7 separate regions of the Homo sapiens genome follow, and regions 2, 3, 4, 5, 6 and 7 are each linked to region 1. The links are contacts of gene promoters, found by promoter capture Hi-C in blood cells and fetal thymus (Javierre and others, 2016). All regions are on one chromosome and are shown on one strand. The core of a region is centred on a gene start or on the middle of the fragment in contact, and the rest is flanking DNA. Distances in the headings are between cores, read along the strand shown. Region 1 holds the start of SAG (S-antigen visual arrestin). Region 2 has its middle 6.0 kb from the start of NGEF. Region 3 overlaps GIGYF2 (GRB10 interacting GYF protein 2). Region 4 overlaps NGEF (neuronal guanine nucleotide exchange factor). Region 5 overlaps GIGYF2 (GRB10 interacting GYF protein 2). Region 6 overlaps NGEF (neuronal guanine nucleotide exchange factor). Region 7 has its middle 1.7 kb from the start of SNORC.

Region 1 (2,746 bases), core at 134-2,633:
AACTGTAATCCCAGCTACTCGGGAGGCTGAGACAGGAGAATCGCTTGCACCCAGGAGGTGGAGGCTGCAGTGAGCCGAGATCGCGCCACTGCACTCCAGCCCAGGCAACAGAGTGAGACTCTATCTCGAAAGCAAAAAAAAAAAAGAGTGAAATGCAAGCGTGCCTCCAATCTGGTCCTGGAGGTTGGGGATAGCTCCCCTGAGGAAGTGACTCCTGGTCAAAAATCTGAAAGGCCAAGAAGAGTCAACAAAGTGGAGAGAGGAGAGGCTTGTTCCAGGCAGAAATAATAGTGGGAAGGAGGAAGCGTGGCAGACGGCGTGGAAGGAAAGGCAGGCAGAGGTTCCAGAGGCTGCAAGCTTTTTGCCTGCATTCTAAGAGCAATGGGTGATTGTAAGCGAGGGATGACAGGGCTCAGAAGGTCTCTCTGCCTCTGTGTGGAAAAGGGCTTGGAGGGTAGAAATAAATGTGGTCGGCTGGGTGCGGTGACTCATTCCTGGAATCCCAGCACTTTGGGAGGCCGAGGCAGGTGGATCACCTGAGGTCAGGAGTTCGAGACCAGCCTGGCCAACATAGTAAAACCCTGTCTCTACTAAAAATACAAAATTAGCTCAGTGTGGTGGTAGGCGCCTGTAGTCCCAGCTACTCTGGAGGCTGAGGCAAGAGAATCACTTGAACCTGGGAGGCAGAAGTTTCAGCAAGCTGAGACTGCACCACTGCACTTCAGCCTGGGAGGCAGAAGTTTCAGCAAGCTGAGACTGCACCACTGCACTTCAGCCTGGGAGACAGAGCAAGACTCCATCTCAAAACAAAAAACAAAACAAAAAAAAGAAAAGAAATAGATGTAGTCAGACAGTGGGGAATCACTCCGGTCCTGAGAAGCAAAGGCGGTGCTGGGGATGGGAGGATGCAGACAGGTTCCAGAGACACTGAGGGGATCAACAGGACTCCTGAAGCCATCAATCAGTAGGACCGGGTGGAGGAGAGGGACAGATCCAGCTTGGCTTGCATAACACCAGGTTCATCTTGAGGTTGACATTTCTCCTTGACCTTTTTGTTTAGTCCCCACCCGCAAGGTCGCATTAGCTGCCTGCTGAGTTTAATCAAATCTCTTCCTGTCCTGGCAATGCCCGGGAATGAAGAGATAATCAGTCTATTTCCAGAATCCAAAGAGGTTTAGAAGAAAAAGTAGCTTTCATTTAGCTGTTGGCCCTCCCACCAACCTTCCCCAAGTCAGCTGGGTGACTCATACATCTGTGAGACCCTCCGTATGGAGACCGGGGCGGGGGGTGTTGCTTAATGCTTAGAACTGCTGAAACTACCAGTTCACTGTCTCAGCACTAATCCAACTCTGCTCCTTAAGTGGGATTTGGCTTTTAGACATTGAGACCTGGATGCTGGGCATCCTCGCTAGATCCCCTACAAATTCCCCACATACGTAGGCCAGGAGCCTCAGCGGTGCCCCTTCAGGCTCATCTGGCAAGACGGTACCAGCTTGCTCAGAACAGGGGCTGGCTATTCATCATCTCAGAGCATAGAGACCCTCTCCTTGCCACCCGGCCCTTCCCACCTGGTTGGTGACAAATCACAAGGTATGTGACCACCACAGGCCAAAACCTTATCAGAAACCTGGGGCAGGTGTGGGGAAGAGCAAGGATGGGCGTTTTCCTGCAGACAGTATGTCCCGCCTTCACCTTTTCTGTGTGGTTTCCATAAGACTTGGTTGCTATTTAAGGAGACTTGGAGTGAGCGGGTGCAATGGCTCATGCCTATAGTCCCAGTGACTCAGGAGGCTGAGGCTGGAGGATCACTTGAAGCCAGGAATTCGAGACCAACTTGAGCAATACAGTCAGACCCAGTCTCTACAAAAAAACAAAAATAAAAATAAATTAGCTAGGCATGGTGTCACACACCTGTAGTCCTGGCTACTCAGCTGGCTGAGGCAGGAGGATCACGAGCCCAGGAGTTCGAGGCTGCGGTGAGCTATGATTGTGGCACTGCCCTCCAGCCTGGGCAACAGAACGAGCTCCTATATCTTAAAAAAAAAAAAAACCTCAGAGTATGCTTAATTCTAGACCGCTAAGATGGCCTCTTAATTGTAAAACAGAGTGGCTATCTCTTAGTAGGAATTGCCAAATAGAACTTTTGGGATTTTAATATATTCTTTTTTTTTAAAAAAAGTGATAGGATCTTGCTATGTTGCCCAGGCCAGTCTCCAACTCCTGGTTTCAAATGATCCTCTCGCTTCAGCCTCCCAGAATGTTGAGATGACAGGTGTGAGCCACAGTGCCCGGCCATTAATATCTTCTTGAAAACAGTCTTTGCGAAGTGGTTATGTTGTGGTTTTCAGGAACTTTTCTGATTTATTCGCCATTAGACACAGTCACGATAGAACTTTAAATTCAACCTGGCTAAGTGTGATAACACCAAAGGTTAGTCAGAAAGTAAAACCTCATTGGAATCTAGCTAGACTCCCTGGCAAGGTGTACTGAGAAATGTTTGAAGCTTACCAAGAAAAATAAAATATTGAAAACACCCCAAAGCATGCTGCAGTAAAATACAAACTAAGCAAAGACTCACCGATGAAACTCGGATGTTGAAGCCGGTACAAGGGCATGGTGAGGACGCACAGGATCTCGTGAGTAGGTTTCATAACTAGGATGTTCTTGACTTGATATTTAGGATTGTCTTACCTTTCTCCAACCCTCTAACACCTGACCAACACCCCAAGGTGGTAGAAGTTGCCAG
Region 2 (2,768 bases), core at 160-2,659, 290 kb before region 1:
CATAGGCAGAAATTATAAAACATATTGGTCTTAAGGAAGACCAATATGAAGAATATAATTTATTAAACATGATAATACCAAATTGTAAAACATTTGAGAAAGTCCAACATAAAGAAATACATCCCACAAAAATGGGAGAGTTGACACATGAGAAAATAGAAACAATAGAACAATATTTAAAAAGACCTTAAAAACTAAGTATGCGTTTCATTTCAGAAGTGGGTGTGTGACATAATTACCTTCTTGGGATTTCAAAGTACAACCATTAAGACTCTCCTGGCCTCAGTCAGATGATAACAAGTTTTAGCAAACTTGGCATTCATAAGTACTTGACCTTGGATGGAGGAAAAGGTTAGAAATGTTTGTGTGTGAAGAAGGTAAGTGTATTAGTTTGCTAGGGCTGCTATAACTAATTACCACAGACTGGGAGTCTTAAGCAACAGAAACTTCTTACAGTTCTGGAGGCTGAAAGTTCAAGATCAAGGTATCAGCAGATTTGTTTTTCAGAGACCTCTCTCCTTGGCTTGCACGTGGTGGCTTTCTCTCTGTGTTCTGTCTTTCCTCTGTGTGTGCACACGCTTTTGTGTCCTAATTTTCTCTTCTTATAAGGACACCAATCTTATTGGATTAGGGCCCACCCGTATGACCACATTTTACTTTAATTACCTCTTTAAAGGCCCCATTGGCCAGGCACAGTGCCTCACGCTTGTAATCCCAGAACTTTGGGAGGCTGAGGCAGGTGGATCACCTGAGGTCAGGAGTTCGAGACCAGCCTTACCAACATGATGAAACCCCGTCTCTACTAAAAATACAAAATTAGCTGGATGTGGTGGCACACATCTGTAATCCCAGCTACTCAGGAGGCTGAGGCTGGGGCAATTGCTTGAAACTGGGAGGTGGAGGTTGCAGTGAGCCAAGATTGCATCATTGCACTCCAGCCTATGCAACAGAGTGAGACTCCATCTCTAAATAAATAAATAAATAAATAAGGCTCTATCTTCAAATATAGTCACATTCTGAAGTACTGGGGGTGAAGATTTCAACGTATGAATTTTGAGATTACACAATTTAGCCCATAACAGCTCAAATGCCTTTGTTTCTGCTTTTAAATCTCAATCAACAAATCACTAATTGTGTGACCTTGGAATAGTCACATAATCACATTTTGCCTCATTTTCTGCTTTGCAAAATTGGGGTGATAAACAGCACCTGTTTCATAGAGTTGCTGTTAGAATTAAATAAATTAATGTATGTAAAACTGTTAGAAATAAATACACTTAAAGTGCTTAATGAGATAAAGGAATACAATCTATCAAATAAGAAAAGAAAATTATTATTTTTTAAGGTAGAAGTTGTAGAAATAAAAAATATTGATGTAGGCCGGGCACAGTGGCTCATGCCTGCAATCCTAGCACTTTTGGAGGCCAAGGCAGGTGGATCACTTGAGGTCAGGAGTTTAAAACCAGCCTGGCCAACATGGTGAAACCCTGTCTCTACTAAATATATAAAAAAATTAGCTGGGCCTGGTGGCGGGTGCCTGTAATCCCAGCTACTTGGGAGGCTGAGGCAGGAGAATCGCTTGAACCCAGGAGGCGGAGGTTGCAGTGAGCCAAGATTGTGCCACTGCACTCCAGCCTGGGTGACAGAGTGAGACTCCATCTCAAATATACATATAAAATATTAAATAGAGATGACTTTAGATTTAGTGAGATTTAAAGGGAATGCTTCCAGTTTTTGCCCATTCAGTGTGATACTGGCTGTGGGTTTGTCATAAATAGCTCTTATTATTTTGAGATACGTCCCATCATGCACACGTATGTTTATTGTGGCACTATTCACAATAGCAAAGACTTGGAACCAACCCAAATGTCCATCAATGATAGACTGGATTAAGAAAATGTGGCACATATACACCATGGAATACTATGCAGCCATAAAAAAGGATGAGTTCATGTCCTTTGTAGGGACATGGATAAAGCTGGAAACCATCATTCTCAGCAAACTATCACAAGGGCAAAAAACCAAACACTGCATGTTCTCACTCATAGGTGGGAATTGAACAATGAGAACACTTGGACACAGGAAGAGGAACATCACACACCGGGGCCTGTCGTGGGGTAGGGGGAGTGGGGAGGGATAGCATTAGGAGATACACTTAATGTAAATGACAAGTTAATGGGTGCAGCACACCAACATGGCACATGTATACATATGTAACAAACCTGCAGGTTGTGCACATGTACCCTAGAACTTAAAGTATAATAATAATAATAAAAAAGATTTAGTGAGATTTAGTGATTTGGAAGAGATATCTGAGAAAATTACCCAGAATGAAGCACCAGCAGGTAAAGACATGGAAAATATGAAAGAAGCAAAAACAAAATCTACAGAATAAATTTTAAAAACTCAAGGAGGAGAGGTTACATTCAAAGAAATAATGACTGAGGATTTTTCTAGGTTTGGAGAAAGACCTGAATTCTGGGTTGAAAAACTGTGCTGAGTCCTAGGCTGGGTGAATGAAAGTGAATTCACACCTGAACAGCCCATAATGGAACTGCAGAACATCAAGGAGAAAGAAAAAATCATAAAAGCCATCAAAAAGAAAACAGATTAAAGTAATGACGATCCTGGAAAGCCAGGCACCATCCCCTGACCACAGGGATTTTTCTCCACACCTCTCCCCTCCCTTCCTCAGAATCCAACAGAGCACCCACTGTGTGCTGGGCCCTGTGCTCTCCACTGAAATGTTCTCCTCTGCTTCTTACATT
Region 3 (2,749 bases), core at 235-2,734, 480 kb before region 1:
TTAGCTCTTACTTTTAGTTTGGATTCCTTATATTCTCAGTACATGTCCTTTGTTAGATAAATGTTGTGCATACTTTCCTCCAGGCTATAGCATGTCTATTTATTTTCCTAGGGGGATCTTTTGATAAGCAGAGATTTTTAATTTTGATGAAATCCTATTAAATTTGTCTTTTATTAGTGTTTTTTTGTTTCTATGTAAGAAATACTTGCCAACCTACAGATTATTAAAATATCTCCTGTATTTTTTTTAAAGCTTTATAGTTTTCGTTTTACAAATAGTTTGAATTGTTTTTTCTGTATGATATGAGGTATGGGTTGTTCCAGTGCCTGTTTTTGCAAAGTCTTTACTTTTTCTATTGAATTTTTGATGCTTTTGTCAAAGTCAATTGTATAAATATTTTTTTTTTTTTTTTTACTGGACTCTTCCCTTTTCTTCCATTGATAAGTTTGCCTGTCCTTAAATGAGTACACACTGATTTGATTACTACTGTACCTTTATAGTAACAGAAGTAAGTCAGTATGTCTTCCAGCTTTGCCTTTTTATTCAAGACTGCTTGACTAAGATCTTTTGCCTTCCTATTAAAATTTAAAATTATCTTCTTAATTTCTATATAAGTAAAAGCCTCCTGTGGTTATGATATGGATTGTGTGGAATCTAAATTGAAGAGAATTCACATTTTAAGATATACTGAGGCTTCCAGGCAATGAACATGGTATAACTTTCCATTTGTTTATGTTTTCCTTGTTTTTTCTCAGTACCATTTTGTTTTCGTTATACAGGTTATGTACATCTTTAAAAAACTGATTTTTTTCTTTTTTGCTATTATGAGTGGAATTTTAAAAGTTTATTTTCCAGCAGGCTGGGTGCAGTGGCTCATGCCTGTAATCTCAGCACTTTGGGAGGCCAAGGCGGGCAGATCACGAAGTCAGGAGTTCGAGACCAGCCTGGCCAACAGGGTGAAACCCTGTGTCTACTAAAAATACAAAAATTAGCTGGGCGTGGTGGCGTGCGCCTGTAATCCCAGTTACTTGGGTGGCTGAGGCAGGAGAACTGCTTGAACGCGGGAGGCGGAGGTTGCAGTGACCCGAGGCACCCCTGCATTCCAGCCTGGGCGACAGGGCAAGACTCTGTCTCGGAGGGGGAAAAGCTGTTTATTTTCCAGTTCTATGGAATTGGAATTGCCAGTTCTATAGAAATGGAATTGATTGGTTTTCATATATAGATCTTATATTCTGACACCTTGTGAAACTCAACTTAGTACCTCCAATAGTATTTTTGTTGATTCCTTAGGATTTTCTATGGAATCTTATTGATAAATAGGAGCAGTTTTAATTCTTCCTTTCCAACCTTGGATAGAAGTGGTTAAAATGTATAATAGCCTTATTTCCAGTATTGGGGTGAAAATGTCCGGTATTTCACCATTAAATATATTGATAGTTTTTCATAGGTATCCATTATCCAGCTGAAGAAGTTTCTTTCCAGTCCTAGTTTACTGAAAGTTTTTCAATGAATAGATACTGAGGTTGTAAAATGCTTTATCTGCATTGATTGATGATCATTTAGTTTTTTCATTCTGCTTATATGGTGAATTATTAATATTAATATTAATAACTGAGTTATTAATAACTGAGGTTTGAAGGTTAAGTCAACTTTGTGTTCCTGGATTACCACCCTACTTGATACATATGTTAACCTAATTTGGTACTGTTTTGTTAAGAATATTTGCATCTAATTTGGTACTGTTTTGTTAAGAATATTTGCATCTGTGTTCATGAGGGAGAGATAGGTCTACAATTTTCTTTCTCTTTTTCCTTTCTTTCTTTCTTTTTTTTTTTTTTTATTGAGATGGTCTCACACTGTCACCCAGGCTGCAGTCTTGGCTCACTACAGCCTCAACCTACCATGCTCAGTCAAGCCTCCCACCTCAGCCACCTCAGTAGCTTGGGCCACATGCTCATGCCACCACTCCTGGCTAATTTTTTTATTTTTTGTAGAGATATGGGGTCTTGCTGTGTTGCTCAGGCTGGTCTTGAATTCCTGGACTCAAGCAGTTTTCTTGTCTCAGCCTCCCAAAGTGGTGGGATTACAGGAGTGAGCCACCGCAACCTGACCTGTAATTTTCTTGTAATGCTTTTGTCCCCTTTTGGTGTTAGGTTTATACTGGCCTCTTAAATTGGAATGTGATACTTTCATTGTTTTCCGAAAAAGTTTGTGTAAGATTGGAATTATTTCTTCATTGAATAGAGGCATACCTCATTTTATTGTGCTTCACTTTCTTGTGCTTTGCACGTATTTCATTTTTTACGAATTGAAGGGCTTGTGGCAGCCCTGCATCGACCAAGTCTGTTGGCCAGCAGCATGTGCTCACTTTGTCTCTGTGTCACACTTCGGTAATTCTTGCAATGTTTCAGATTTTTTTTACTGTTATATCTGTTACGGTGATCTGTAATAAGTGATTTTTGATGTCACTATTGAAATTGTTGTGGAGTGCCGTGAACTGTGCCCATGTAAGGCAGCAAACTTAATCCATACCTATAGTGCATGTTCTGACTATTGACTGGCTATTCCCTGTCTCTCTTCCTCTCCTTCGACCTCCCTATTCGCTGAGACACATCATTATGGAAATTAGGCCAATTGGATAACCTACAATGGCCTCTAAGGGTTCAAGTGAAAGGAAGAGTCATGTCTCACACTTTAAATTGAATGCTAGAAATGATTAAGCTTAGTGAGGAAGGCATGTCAGAAGCTG
Region 4 (2,780 bases), core at 196-2,695, 390 kb before region 1:
ATCACGAGATCAGGAGATTGAGATCATCCTGGCTAACACAGTGAAACCATGTCTCCACTAAAAACACAAAAAATTAGCTGGGCGTGGTGGCACGTGCCTGTAATCCCAGTTACTCGGGAGGCTGAGGCAGGAGAATCACTTGAACCTGGGAGGCAGAGGTTGCAGTGAGCCGAGATCCTGCCACTGCACTCCAGCCTGGGCAACAGAGTGAGACTCCATCTCAAAAAATAAAAGTAAAATAAAATAAAATAATTTTGTGTTTGTACCCTAATTTTCAGATTTGGTTATCAATATTATACTGTGTTCAGATAATTTGTGTATTTCTCTCTTTTCCATGCTTTAGACTAGGGGTCAGCAAACTACAGCCCATGGGCTGGCCACTTGTATTTGTAAATAAAGTTTTACTGGAACACAGCCACACTCATTCCTTTACACAGTGTCTATAGCTGCTGTCACACCACAACGACAGAGCTGGGTAGTTCTGACAGACAGTATGGTCTACAAAGCCTAACACATTTATTATCTGGCCCTTTAACAGAAAGTTTGATGATCTCTGCTCTAGACTTACGCTGATCAACACAGTAGCAACATGTGGCTAAACTGATGTTTGTTTAAACCAGGTGGAATTAAACATTCAGTTTCTTAGTTGCACTGACCAGTTTCAAATGCTCGGTAGCCACACGGAGCTAGTGACTATTGGAGACATGATGTAGAACATTCCATCATTGCCAGGCATGGTGCCTCACACCTGTCTCAGCACTTTGGGAGGCTGAGGCAGGGAGATCACTTGAGCTCAGGAGCTTGAGACCAGCCTGGCCATCATGGTGAAACCCTATCTCTACCAAAAATAGAAAAATTAGCCTTGTGTAGTGGTGTACACCTGTAGTCTCAGCCACTTGGGAGGCTGAGGCACGAGAATTGCTTGAACCCAGGAGGCTAAGGTTACAGCGAACCAAGATTGTGCCACTGCACTCCAGCCTGGGTGACAGAGTGAGACTGTCTCAAAAAATATAATAATAAAATACAAAATAACATTTCTGGCCAGGTGCAGTGGCTCACGCCTGTAATCCCAGCACTTTGGGAGGCTGAGGTGGGTGGATCACGAGGTCAGGAGTTCAAGACCAGCCTGACCAACATGGTGAAACCCTGTCTCTACTAAAAATACAAAAATTACCTGGGCGTGGTGGTGCACGCCTGTAATCCCAGCTACTCGGGAGGCTGAGGCCGAAGAATCGCTTGAGCCTGGGAGGCAGAGGCTGCAGCAAGCCGAGATTGTGCCACTGCTCTCCAGCCTGGGCAACAGAGCAAGACTCCATCTCCAAAAAAAAAAAAAAAAAAGAACATTTTCATCAAGGCAGGGAATTCCACCAGACGGCTCTGCTGCAGGCCAGCCTAAGTAACCCCAGACCCTCCTGGCTCTCCTGGGATTTGAACAGGAGTCCTCTGGGTGCCACATCTTTCCTGTAGGTGATTTTTTGGGGTTACTGGTATATTTTTGTGTATTTAAAATTTTTACTTTTGATTCCATTGGTAGTAGCTTATATTTTCCTAGAAAATCATTCATCTGTTTTTTCTAATCATTCATCTTATCAAGACTTTTGCATAGTATCTTCTTGGATCTCTGTCCTCTCTGTTCTCCTTAGGAGTGTTTGTTGTGTGTTTTCCCCTAATGTCTCAAGCTGGCATCTCAGAAGTTCATTTAATTTTGTATTTATCTCTTTCAATTCTTTCTATTCTTTGGAATTTGGTGTGCATTTTACACACACACTGCATCTCAACTGGATTCATTACATGTCGTGTTCAGCAGCCACGTGTGGCTGGTGGCTGTCAGAGCGGGCAGGGCAGCTCTAGAGAGTATAAAGTTCAGTACAAATCTTTTCATCCAACCTAATTATTTTTTTCTGATTCCCCATCTTCCTGCTGGGTCCCACTCCTGTAGGATAGTGGAGTGCGCATGGCAACGTCTCCTCTTGTTTCTGACAGATTCTGCTCTATTTATTTATTTATTTTTTCTGAGGTGGAGTCTCACTGTTGCCAGGCTGGAGTGCAGTGGCGTGATCTTGGTTCACTGCAACCTCTGCCTCCCAGGTTCAAGCGATTCTCCTGCCTCAGCCTCCCAAGTAGCTGGGACTATAGGCGCACACCACCACGCCCAGCTAATTTTTGTATTTTTAGTAGAGATGGGGTTTCACCATGTTGACCAGGCTGGTCTCGAACTCCCGACCTCAGGTGATCTACCTGCCTTGGCCTCCCAAAATGCTAGGATTACAGGCAAGAGCCTCTGTGCCCTGCCTTCTGCTCTATCTTTTTGTCTAGTTCATAACAGTTCCCAGCCATTACCTTTTCACTGTAAAGTGTACCTCTTGGGAACAGCCTTTCTAATCATAAGACACAACATCCGAAGATTAGGTTTAAATAAATGAAAGTACTGAAAGATTTGCTATCAAAATGGAAAAAGGATTTTTATCCAAAAAGAAGATGCCATGGACCAAGTGAGAGGGCACATAAGCCCTTGATAATGTCAGCTTTTTGCCACGCACTGTCTTCAGCTCCTTATCTGTGTTATTTATTCAATCTGCACAAGCCTGAGAGGTAGGTACTAGGATTTCCATCTTACAGATAAGGCACAGAGAAGTTAAGTAATTTGCCTAAGGTCACACAGCTAAGAAGTAGCGGAGCTGAGAAACCTAGGCAGTTGGGCACCAGTGGCTGTGCACAAATTGCGTCCCTTATATTATCGTGCAGGAGAAAACATTTGAAAATATTAAAAAAAAGAATTA
Region 5 (2,700 bases), core at 168-2,667, 460 kb before region 1:
ACTGAGCCCTGAGTGGGATGTCTTGGTCTAAATAGAGGAAAATGGTGGCTCAGTGGCCGCTCTTGATTTTATTATTAGAACATGTGATGAAAAGCTTTTTGTTTTTCTGCTTTTAAGCTCATTCTTGATAAGGTGAGGACAAACCAAACATTTTCCTAGGGTGAGCCAAGTCTGAATCTGCTGTGTAATCTCAGTCATGCTGCTTATTTCACAGGACTCTGTGTGGGGGATGAACCACAGTACACTCCATTCAGTATTTCAGACCAATCAAAGCAACAACCAACAATCCAATTTTGAGGCTGTGCAGAGTGGCAAGAAGAAGAAAAAGCAGAAGATGGTCCGAGCAGATCCCAGTTTATTAGGTGAGCACGGTCCTAGTCTCAGCTGAGTGTTGGAGGAGTGCAGGTGATACCAGTTATCCTGTGTGAGTTTCCATTGAGCATTGTTTTTCAAGAAGGGAAATATTTCTTTTTATCAATAACTAATGTTTTAACTGGTTCAAAATAAGTAGCCAGTATTTACTGGGCGTCTCAGTGCAGGACCTGTGCCTCATGTAATAACAACTTATATTGTATGGTGCTTTAAAGTATTGTTTGGTGCTTTAAAGTATTGTTTGATATTTAATATGAATTTCCCTGGAGGATCCTGAGTAATTTAGTTGGAAAATGATGCTAATAATGAACGATACTAAAAGTATGTTAAAAACTTAAATGCTTATTTGTATTGAAAGCAGACCATTAATCCGATCAGGTGTTCCAAGAAGAGAACCAGTATATGTTCATAATCACTCTATGTATCATATAATTCTCAGAATTACTTTGCATTATGAGGTGACATACCAGTTTCACCAATAATGAGTAGACCAAGGCACAGAGATTGAGAACATTTCCCAGTGTTACATAGCTTTCTGCTATGGGATGCTGGGATTTCAAGGCAGGCCTGTTTTCTTTCCACCCTTCTGTGTTACCCACGGCTATTTTTATCTAGCATTATGGACCATGCAAGGCAGGCTGGGCACGGTGGCTCACTTTGGGAAGCTGAGGTAGGTGGGTCACTTGAGGCCAGGAGTTTGAGACCAGCTGGGGTAACGTAGCGAGACCATATCTCTAAAAAAAATTTTAAAAACAGGCATGGTGGTGCCCACCTATAGTCCCAGCTACTTGGGAGAATGAGGCAGGGGGATTCCTTGACCAGGAGTTGAAGGCTGCAGTGAGCTGTGATCATGCCACTGCACTCTAGCTTCTCTGAAAAGGTGACATCTGAATTTGGGCTTTGAAAGAATGGCAGAAAGGATGGGGAATATTGTTTCAGGAATAACAAACAGTATAGGCTGCCCATGTTTTTTGCAACAGTGATGAAACTAACATTTTTTTTTTCTTTTTCTTTTTCTTTGAGATGGAGTCTCACTCTTGCTCAGGCTGGAGTGCAGTGGCGTGATCTCAGCTCACTGCAACCTCTGCCTCCCGGGTTCAAGCGATTCTCTTGCCTCAGCCTCCTGAGTAGCTGAGACTACAGGCACATGCCGCCACACCTGGCTAATTTTTGTATTTTTAGTAGAGAGGGGTTTTTGCCATGTTGGCCAGGCTGGTCTTGAACTCCTGACTTCAGGTGATCTTCTTGCCTTGGCCTCCCAAAGTGCTGGGATTACAGGTGTGAACCGCCACGCCCGGCCCTAAAATTATTTTCTATTTGTGAATGTAAAATTAGTGGCTATAAAACCATGTTGTCTGCAATAGAATACATTCGCAAGGATGGAAGTTCCGGTTGTTGTCCTGTCAGGAGGGCAGAACAGTGAGGAGGCTGCAGTATAGACTAGGTAAAAGATACCAGTGACTTGGAATAGGGTTTTGGTAGTGGGGATGAAAAGGAGTTAGATGGATTTCAGAAATGTAGGGGATAGAATTAACTGGACAAGAAGAGTGGAAAGGTCTCAGGCTTGGGGACCAGGATGGATGGATGGTGTTGCCATTTGCTGTGAAATGATAAGCAGTGGAACATGGCACAGGCTGAGGGGAATTGAGTGTTGACTGGGTTGAGTTTGAAATGTCTGTGGGACATCATGAAGAGCGTGAGACCCCGCACAGTGAGAGGCAGGTGGTAACCTTACTGTACCCTTGGTAGGATTCTCTCTTTCCCTCAGAGCCTTCCAGCCCTGGTGAAAACAACATGACAGTAAAACCTAACTTTTAGGACTGTCCTTTAGAATTGGTGCCTGAAGCCAGACGCGGTGACTCACGCCTGTAATCCCAGATCTTTGGGAGGCTGAGGCGGGTGGATCGCTTGAGGTCAGGAGTTGGAGACCAGCCTGGCCAACATGGTGAAACCTCGTCTCTAGTAAAAATACAAAATTAGCTGGGCGTGGTGGTGGGTGCCTATAATCCCAGCTACTCGGGAAGCTGAGGCAGGAGAATCACTTGAGCAGCCTAGGAGGCGGAGGTTGCAGTGAGCTGAGATCACGCCACTGCACTCCAGCCTGTGCGACAGAGTGAGACTCCGTCTCAAAAAAATAATAATTTAAAATAATAATGTTTAAAATATTATTTAAAAATAATAATAACAAAGAATTGGTGCCTGAAAGCTGGGTTTGGGAACTTGTAGATCTGGTGCAATTCTGTTTTCCTCTGCTTGTCTCAAAAGTTGATAAGGATGGATGGAGCAGCCTGAAATTTTTTCCAATTTGGATGAAATTGGTGAATAGAT
Region 6 (2,700 bases), core at 29-2,528, 420 kb before region 1:
GGCCTGACATCTGCTGCAGCTCACCCTGCTTCAGCAGCCAGCGGGAGTGGGAGATGATGGGCACCGACTGCAGCGGGGAAAGGGCATCAGGCAGGCTGTGCCCACAATGTCCCTCCCCAGGACATGCCCCCAGGGCTGCGTCTGTCACATTCCCTGACACCTGCCCAGGGCCCCGACACATGAGGCACAAGTTGGGGGGAAAGGCCGAGTTCTGGACGGATGCAGAGAGATGGCAGGGCTGTGTGTGTGTGTGTGAACATGCACCCCTGTGGGCATGAGTGTGCTATGCGTGTGTGTGCTGTGCATGTGGACTTCTATGTGTATGGACTGTGTTGTGTACCCACATGTGAGCTTAAAGTTATGTGCACGTGCTTGTGTGCATGTACACTGCTGTTTACATGTGTGCACTGCTGTGTGGATACCGTGTGTGTGCCTGTGAGTGTGGCAGCTAGTGTCTGTCATCATTGCCCCCACCAAGCTCTGCCTGTGGGATGCAGAATCAGAGAAGGGGCTGAGTTCACAGTAGAGAGGAAAGAATGGGACCCGCGGGGCAAGGAGGCCAGGCCTGCAGCTGAACGGCCGCCTGGCAGACGATGCAACTCAGGGGCAGGCGCCTGGCAGCCATCGGTCAGCACCGTGTGGAGCTACATGGGACGCCCAGAAGACCGCCTCTGCCTCCTCTAGTGGGGCTCAGCTCCCAAACCAAGCCTGGCCTCAGGGACCGTCTGTGGGCACAGCGTGCTGATGTGGCCAAGTTCCCAGAAAGTCGGGCCCAGGGGACCTGAGGGTTCACGAATGCCTGAAGTTTTCTGTGAAGTTTGGGGGAAGCTGGTAACTTCCAAATCCTCCTGGTTTGAGAATCCCTGGAGCAGCACCCCCCACATCCTCCATGTAAACTGACTGCTCAAGGCCACGCAGCGGGCAGGTGAGAGCAGGGTCCACACCCTGCGTGGGTCTGGGCCGCACACTAGCCCCGCACTCCCGTCTCCCAGGAGACAGATCCGGACCACCGTGGTGGTGTCTGACGCCTGGTGGCAGGCGGGGTGGCTTCAGCTGGGGAGGTCAGGGGGCAGAGGGGATCCTAAGTGTGGCCAGTGACCAAGGACCTAAGCAAGGCCAGCCAGGCGCGGTGATCTGTGCCTCTGGGGCGGGGCCAGGGGCCTGTGCATGGGCACAGGCTCACACCAATCCCACCGGTTCACCTTGATCTTGAACTCCATCTTCTTCTGAATGCTGATCATCTGTTCCGTGCGGCTCATTTTCCTGACGCCCTCGTTGCATGCCTTCACCACCTGGGACAAGAAGGAGGGCACATCAGGCCACCAAAGCCGGCTGTCCCGGCCCCTTCCTCCAGCTCGGTCAGGCCACAGACAGGGCTGAGTGACCACCGTGACCAGACACTGTGCCCACAGCTGAGGCTGGCTGGCCAGTCTCAGTCGGACTGGAGCTCCTCTTTCTAGCACCTTGTGGGGCAAAGGCAAGTGGGAAAACCTGTTAGTTTGGGTGGAGAAAGTTGGTGCCTTGCCCTTGCTAGGAAGCAAACTCCAGAAAACACATGCGTGAGGCATCCCTCCTCCTCTGTAGGCTGGACGGACCGGCAGGGCTCCGGGCTGTTCTCCCCACAGCCCCCTGGGTGGCCACCCAGGCACCAAGGGACCTAAAAATCCCACGCTTCCTGGGGCTCCCGAGGACTCGTTCTGAAGGAAGACAATTCTGCAGTGACACATGGGGCCCGGCACAGGGCCAGGCTCGCCGCAGGCTCTCAGGGCACATAAATGAGCACCATGTCCAGGGAAGTGTGCGCGAGGGCCTCCCTGCCATGTTGTCTGGAGTGAGAAACACGCTCGCCAGCCTCAACAGCCATCAGTGGATTCGATTAAAATAGTTATGATCTATGCAGATACGCAAGAACAGAAATCCAGGAAAGAGGCAGGGACTCCACCTGCACTCGAATGCGGGGCAAAGCTGTTTCTAAACCACAAGCCCTTTTTGTAAAGAATACAGTGGTGTGTGTGCTGTGTGTGCCATGTGTGCATGTGTGTGCTGTGTATATGCAGTGTGTGCTGTGTATGCATGTGCGGTGTGTACTGTGTGTGATATGTATGTGCCATGTGTGCTGTGTGTGCTATGCATACTGTGTGTGATAAGTATGTGCTGTGTGTGTGTGCAGTGTGTATTGTGTGATATGTAGGGGCCGTGTATGTGTGTGTGCGTGCTGTGTGTACTGTGTGTGGTATGTGCTGTGTGTGTGTGCAGTGTGTACTGTGTGATGAGGGGCCATGTGTGTGCGGTGTGTATTGTGTGTGATATGTATGGGCGTGTATGTGCTGTGCGTGTGCCGTGTGTGCAGTGTGTGCCCTGCGAGTGTGCTGTGCACAGGTGTGTGTGCACAGGCGTCTGTTTAGGGCGAGCTGCAGCCTGTCGGCAGGGAGGGCGAGGTGGCTAGTGAAGTTTATTTTCTTTTTACTTACAAGCATTTTCTGAGTTTCCTGGTATTGAGTATAATTACTTTCATAAATCAGAGAAAAAATAAACCTTCATTTTTAAAAAAAAAAGCTATTAGAAACAGAGAATACCTTTCATTATAAGAAAAATGAAGATGAAAGCAGAAAAGAACTTTAAAAACAGAAAACATACCCCTGGCCCAGGGCTGACCTCAGGGAGAGCCTTCTGGGGCACGTGGGCCCCTCACGGGCCATG
Region 7 (2,700 bases), core at 174-2,673, 440 kb before region 1:
TGCACTTCCATAATCCTCAGTATTTCCTTATTTGCTAAATCCTAGGATATACCAAAGTGGTTACAGAATTGCTAACCCATACCAAGAGAGACAAGCTTTCTAAACTAGAGTTCTATATGTGTTAGCTCTAACTAGAGACAAGTTTTCCAAGTAGAGTTCTATACTTGCTTAAAGACACTCCAACATTATAAAAATACATATGTATAGTATTATTCATTGCAGCTATCTGTAATTTTAGACTTTTTGTCTGGTCTAAGTATTTTTTTCTACCTTTAGCATGGTTATAATAATCATTTGAAATACAATTCATTGTCTTGAAATTCTTAATTTTATCTTTGAAATTTGAGTTTTATAAGTAAAGTCTGATGGAATAGTGGAGCACGCAGCAGCAGCTTGCAGCCTTGGCTCACGCCTGCCTCGTCCTGCCTCCCCAGGGTGGGTTCTCAGCCCACTGCTGCCCCTGGGCAGCCTGCCTCCCTCCCTATCATCCATATGTCACTTGACTTCCATACACTTTCACTTTGGTAAACACAGTGACATTTTGAATATCCAAAGATGAGTGTCAGCAAAAAGCCAAAGTCTAGTGATCCCTGAAATACAAATGCATCTCCTTTCCGCCAGTGCCCAGCTATTCTGGTCCACGACTGCCTAAACCTTTGAGGAAGATTTGGAAGAAGATTCATTGTCTGTACTTGTGGCCATCTTGCAGGGTCCTTCCTTAAAGATAAATTGCCTCCCTCTCTATCAAGAGATTTTGGTTCTGGGAACCAAGTGAGAACCTTGATGCTCCATTATAGTAAATACAGATTTCTGCTCACCTGTTCATTTTTGTATATCAAGTAATACATTAGTAGACTGGCTGGCTGTTTTATTCCTAGGGATCAAAACATTCTGATGGGTCATTTCATCTTTTTTTTTTTTTTTTTTGAGATGCATCCTCCACCTCCCAAGCTCAAGCAATTCTTGTGCCTCAGCCTTCCAAGTAGCTGGGACTACAGGTGTGCACCACCATGCCTGGCTAATTTTCATATTTTTATTGGAGATGGGTTTTCGCCATGTTGGTCAGGCTGGTCTTGAACTCCTGACCTCAAGTGATCCGCCTGCCCCAGCCTCCCAAAGTGCTGGGATTACAGGCGGGAGCCACCGCACCTGGCCAGGTCATTTCATCTTCACCATCCATGGCAGGGTTGGCGTCCACCCGGCCTCTGCTGCCGCTTGGCCTCTGCTACTTTAGAATCACATTATTTCCTCTGAAATCAGTGATCCCATCATCAACTCTGGCCTACAAAAAACAGCCACAACCTATCTTTTTAAAGTTGCCGGTCTTCACTAATGCATCTCGCAGTGTCTTGGTGAATAGTGTGTACTATGGGACCTACTGAGAACTTAGTGTGGTCGCCAAAGATAAATCCACCCCAACATTCCTTTCTTACTAAGCCATTGGTATCCCCTTCTTCATTAAGTTAGGCTTCTCAATCTCATAGCATCCAGGCTTTTACTGAGCCTAGGTTTTGGTCAGCCAGCCAAACAGAGCTGCTCCTAGATGCTTAGGTTGAAACATTAAATTCAGACTTCACTAAGCACACCCCTGTCTAGAATGTGGCCGGATCTAATGTCATACTCACATCTTGCCTATTTAGTCTGACACCTTAGAATTCATTCCCACACCATGTTTCTATTAATATAAATTAGCAAAATTCGTATCTTACTAACTTGATACTAATTTATTGCTAGCATAAATTAACAGTAGTTTTTAGTTTGTGCTTATTTCCTCCTAAGTCAGACTTTGTGCTTGCTCTCCCTAGGAATGCTGATACCTGATTCTAGTTATGGATATGGAGGCAAGGAGAAGTTGTTAGGGTAGGTACAAGGTAATTTCATATAAATACGCATGCTAAAAAGAAATTTGAAGTGATGGGGGGATTGAGGGGCTGACTTATCAAGCTGAGGCTTGAATGGAAGGGGTGGCCACATAATCACCACAGGACTGCCTTCTGGGAGGAGAGGGGAACATGCAAAGGCCTGAGGCAGGATCTGGGGGTTTGTTGGGGGAGCCTAGTCACGGCCAGTGGACTGAAACATAGAGCTCGTGGGTGGGAAGCTGAGCAGGGCCGAGGCAAGCCCTTAGCGCGGTGGGAAACCATCAAGGTGTGAAGTAGGGGGCGCTGACAGAACTCTGAGGGCTCAGACGTGGGAAGTGAGGGAAAGAGACACCTTTGATGACTTCATTGTGTGGCTAGAACATCTGGGAGCGGGGAACTGGGATTCCACTGACTGAGTGAGGGAAGGGGCAGTAGAGTCAAGGTTTGCTTTGGACACTGTAAGTTGTAGCCGCTCGTGAGATACCCTGCGGGGCTGTTGAGAAGCAGTGGGCAGTGGGGCTAAGTTCTGAGCCAGGCCCAGCCTGGAAATGGATGTCATAAGTGCACAGGGGTCTAGGGAGGCAGAGAGCGAAAGAGGAAACAGGAGCGTTTTAGGAAAGACTAGAGCTGCCTGAGGGTTTGGATCAAAACTGCTTTAAAAGTCCTTCTTCAACAAGCACTGAGCACCTACTCCGGGCCAGGCATGGAGAACCCAGAGGTGAGCAGAGTCCGTCCTGCACTCAGTGCTGCCTGCTTCAGGCCAAATTTCCCCAAGCCCAGGCCACAGGCACTAACATGCAGATTCCCTGGGCTACCCAAGCCCCACTGAAACACAGTG

What was found. The method cuts DNA at HindIII sites, captures the fragments that hold promoters and counts their contacts. A CHiCAGO score of 5 or more calls a contact.
Region 2: a fragment that was not itself captured here is called in contact with the fragment with the promoter of SAG in region 1 in 1 of 17 cell types (erythroblasts); the score reaches 5.6 in erythroblasts.
Region 3: a contact is called between a fragment that was not itself captured here and the fragment with the promoter of SAG in region 1, in 1 of 17 cell types (M1 macrophages). The highest score is 5.1, in M1 macrophages.
Region 4: a fragment that was not itself captured here is called in contact with the fragment with the promoter of SAG in region 1 in 1 of 17 cell types (erythroblasts); the score reaches 6.2 in erythroblasts.
Region 5: a contact is called between a fragment that was not itself captured here and the fragment with the promoter of SAG in region 1, in 4 of 17 cell types (naive CD8 T cells, total CD4 T cells, erythroblasts and 1 more). The highest score is 7.7, in naive CD8 T cells.
Region 6: a contact is called between a fragment that was not itself captured here and the fragment with the promoter of SAG in region 1, in 1 of 17 cell types (erythroblasts). The highest score is 5.1, in erythroblasts.
Region 7: a fragment that was not itself captured here is called in contact with the fragment with the promoter of SAG in region 1 in 5 of 17 cell types (monocytes, neutrophils, M2 macrophages and 2 more); the score reaches 5.6 in monocytes.

Annotation. Positions count from the first base shown.
Region 1 is chr2:233,306,433-233,309,178 of GRCh38, forward strand. It overlaps SAG (S-antigen visual arrestin), which reads left to right and starts at 1,384. Exons shown (of 16, transcript NM_000541.5): 1 at 1,384-1,590; 2 at 2,730-2,746. The HindIII fragment of the contact is 2,146 bases long and covers 356-2,501 here.
Region 2 is chr2:233,017,846-233,020,613 of GRCh38, forward strand. No RefSeq gene overlaps it. Among named protein-coding and RNA genes, the nearest start is that of NGEF, 6.0 kb to the left of the region's middle. The HindIII fragment of the contact is 3,372 bases long and covers 1-2,768 here.
Region 3 is chr2:232,821,544-232,824,292 of GRCh38, forward strand. All of the region lies in intron 21 of GIGYF2 (GRB10 interacting GYF protein 2), which reads left to right. Among named protein-coding and RNA genes, the nearest start is that of KCNJ13, 46 kb to the left of the region's middle. The HindIII fragment of the contact is 2,469 bases long and covers 251-2,719 here.
Region 4 is chr2:232,913,698-232,916,477 of GRCh38, forward strand. All of the region lies in intron 5 of NGEF (neuronal guanine nucleotide exchange factor), which reads right to left. Among named protein-coding and RNA genes, the nearest start is that of SNORC, 45 kb to the left of the region's middle. The HindIII fragment of the contact is 4,119 bases long and covers 1-2,780 here.
Region 5 is chr2:232,850,048-232,852,747 of GRCh38, forward strand. GIGYF2 (GRB10 interacting GYF protein 2) reads left to right here. Exons shown (of 29, transcript NM_001103146.3): 28 at 215-362. Among named protein-coding and RNA genes, the nearest start is that of SNORC, 19 kb to the right of the region's middle. The HindIII fragment of the contact is 2,651 bases long and covers 93-2,700 here.
Region 6 is chr2:232,884,078-232,886,777 of GRCh38, forward strand. NGEF (neuronal guanine nucleotide exchange factor) reads right to left here. Exons shown (of 15, transcript NM_019850.3): 10 at 1,203-1,292; 11 at 1-67. Among named protein-coding and RNA genes, the nearest start is that of SNORC, 15 kb to the left of the region's middle. The HindIII fragment of the contact is 3,527 bases long and covers 1-2,700 here.
Region 7 is chr2:232,867,242-232,869,941 of GRCh38, forward strand. It overlaps a transcript of SNORC not described here. Among named protein-coding and RNA genes, the nearest start is that of SNORC, 1.7 kb to the right of the region's middle. The HindIII fragment of the contact is 2,660 bases long and covers 94-2,700 here.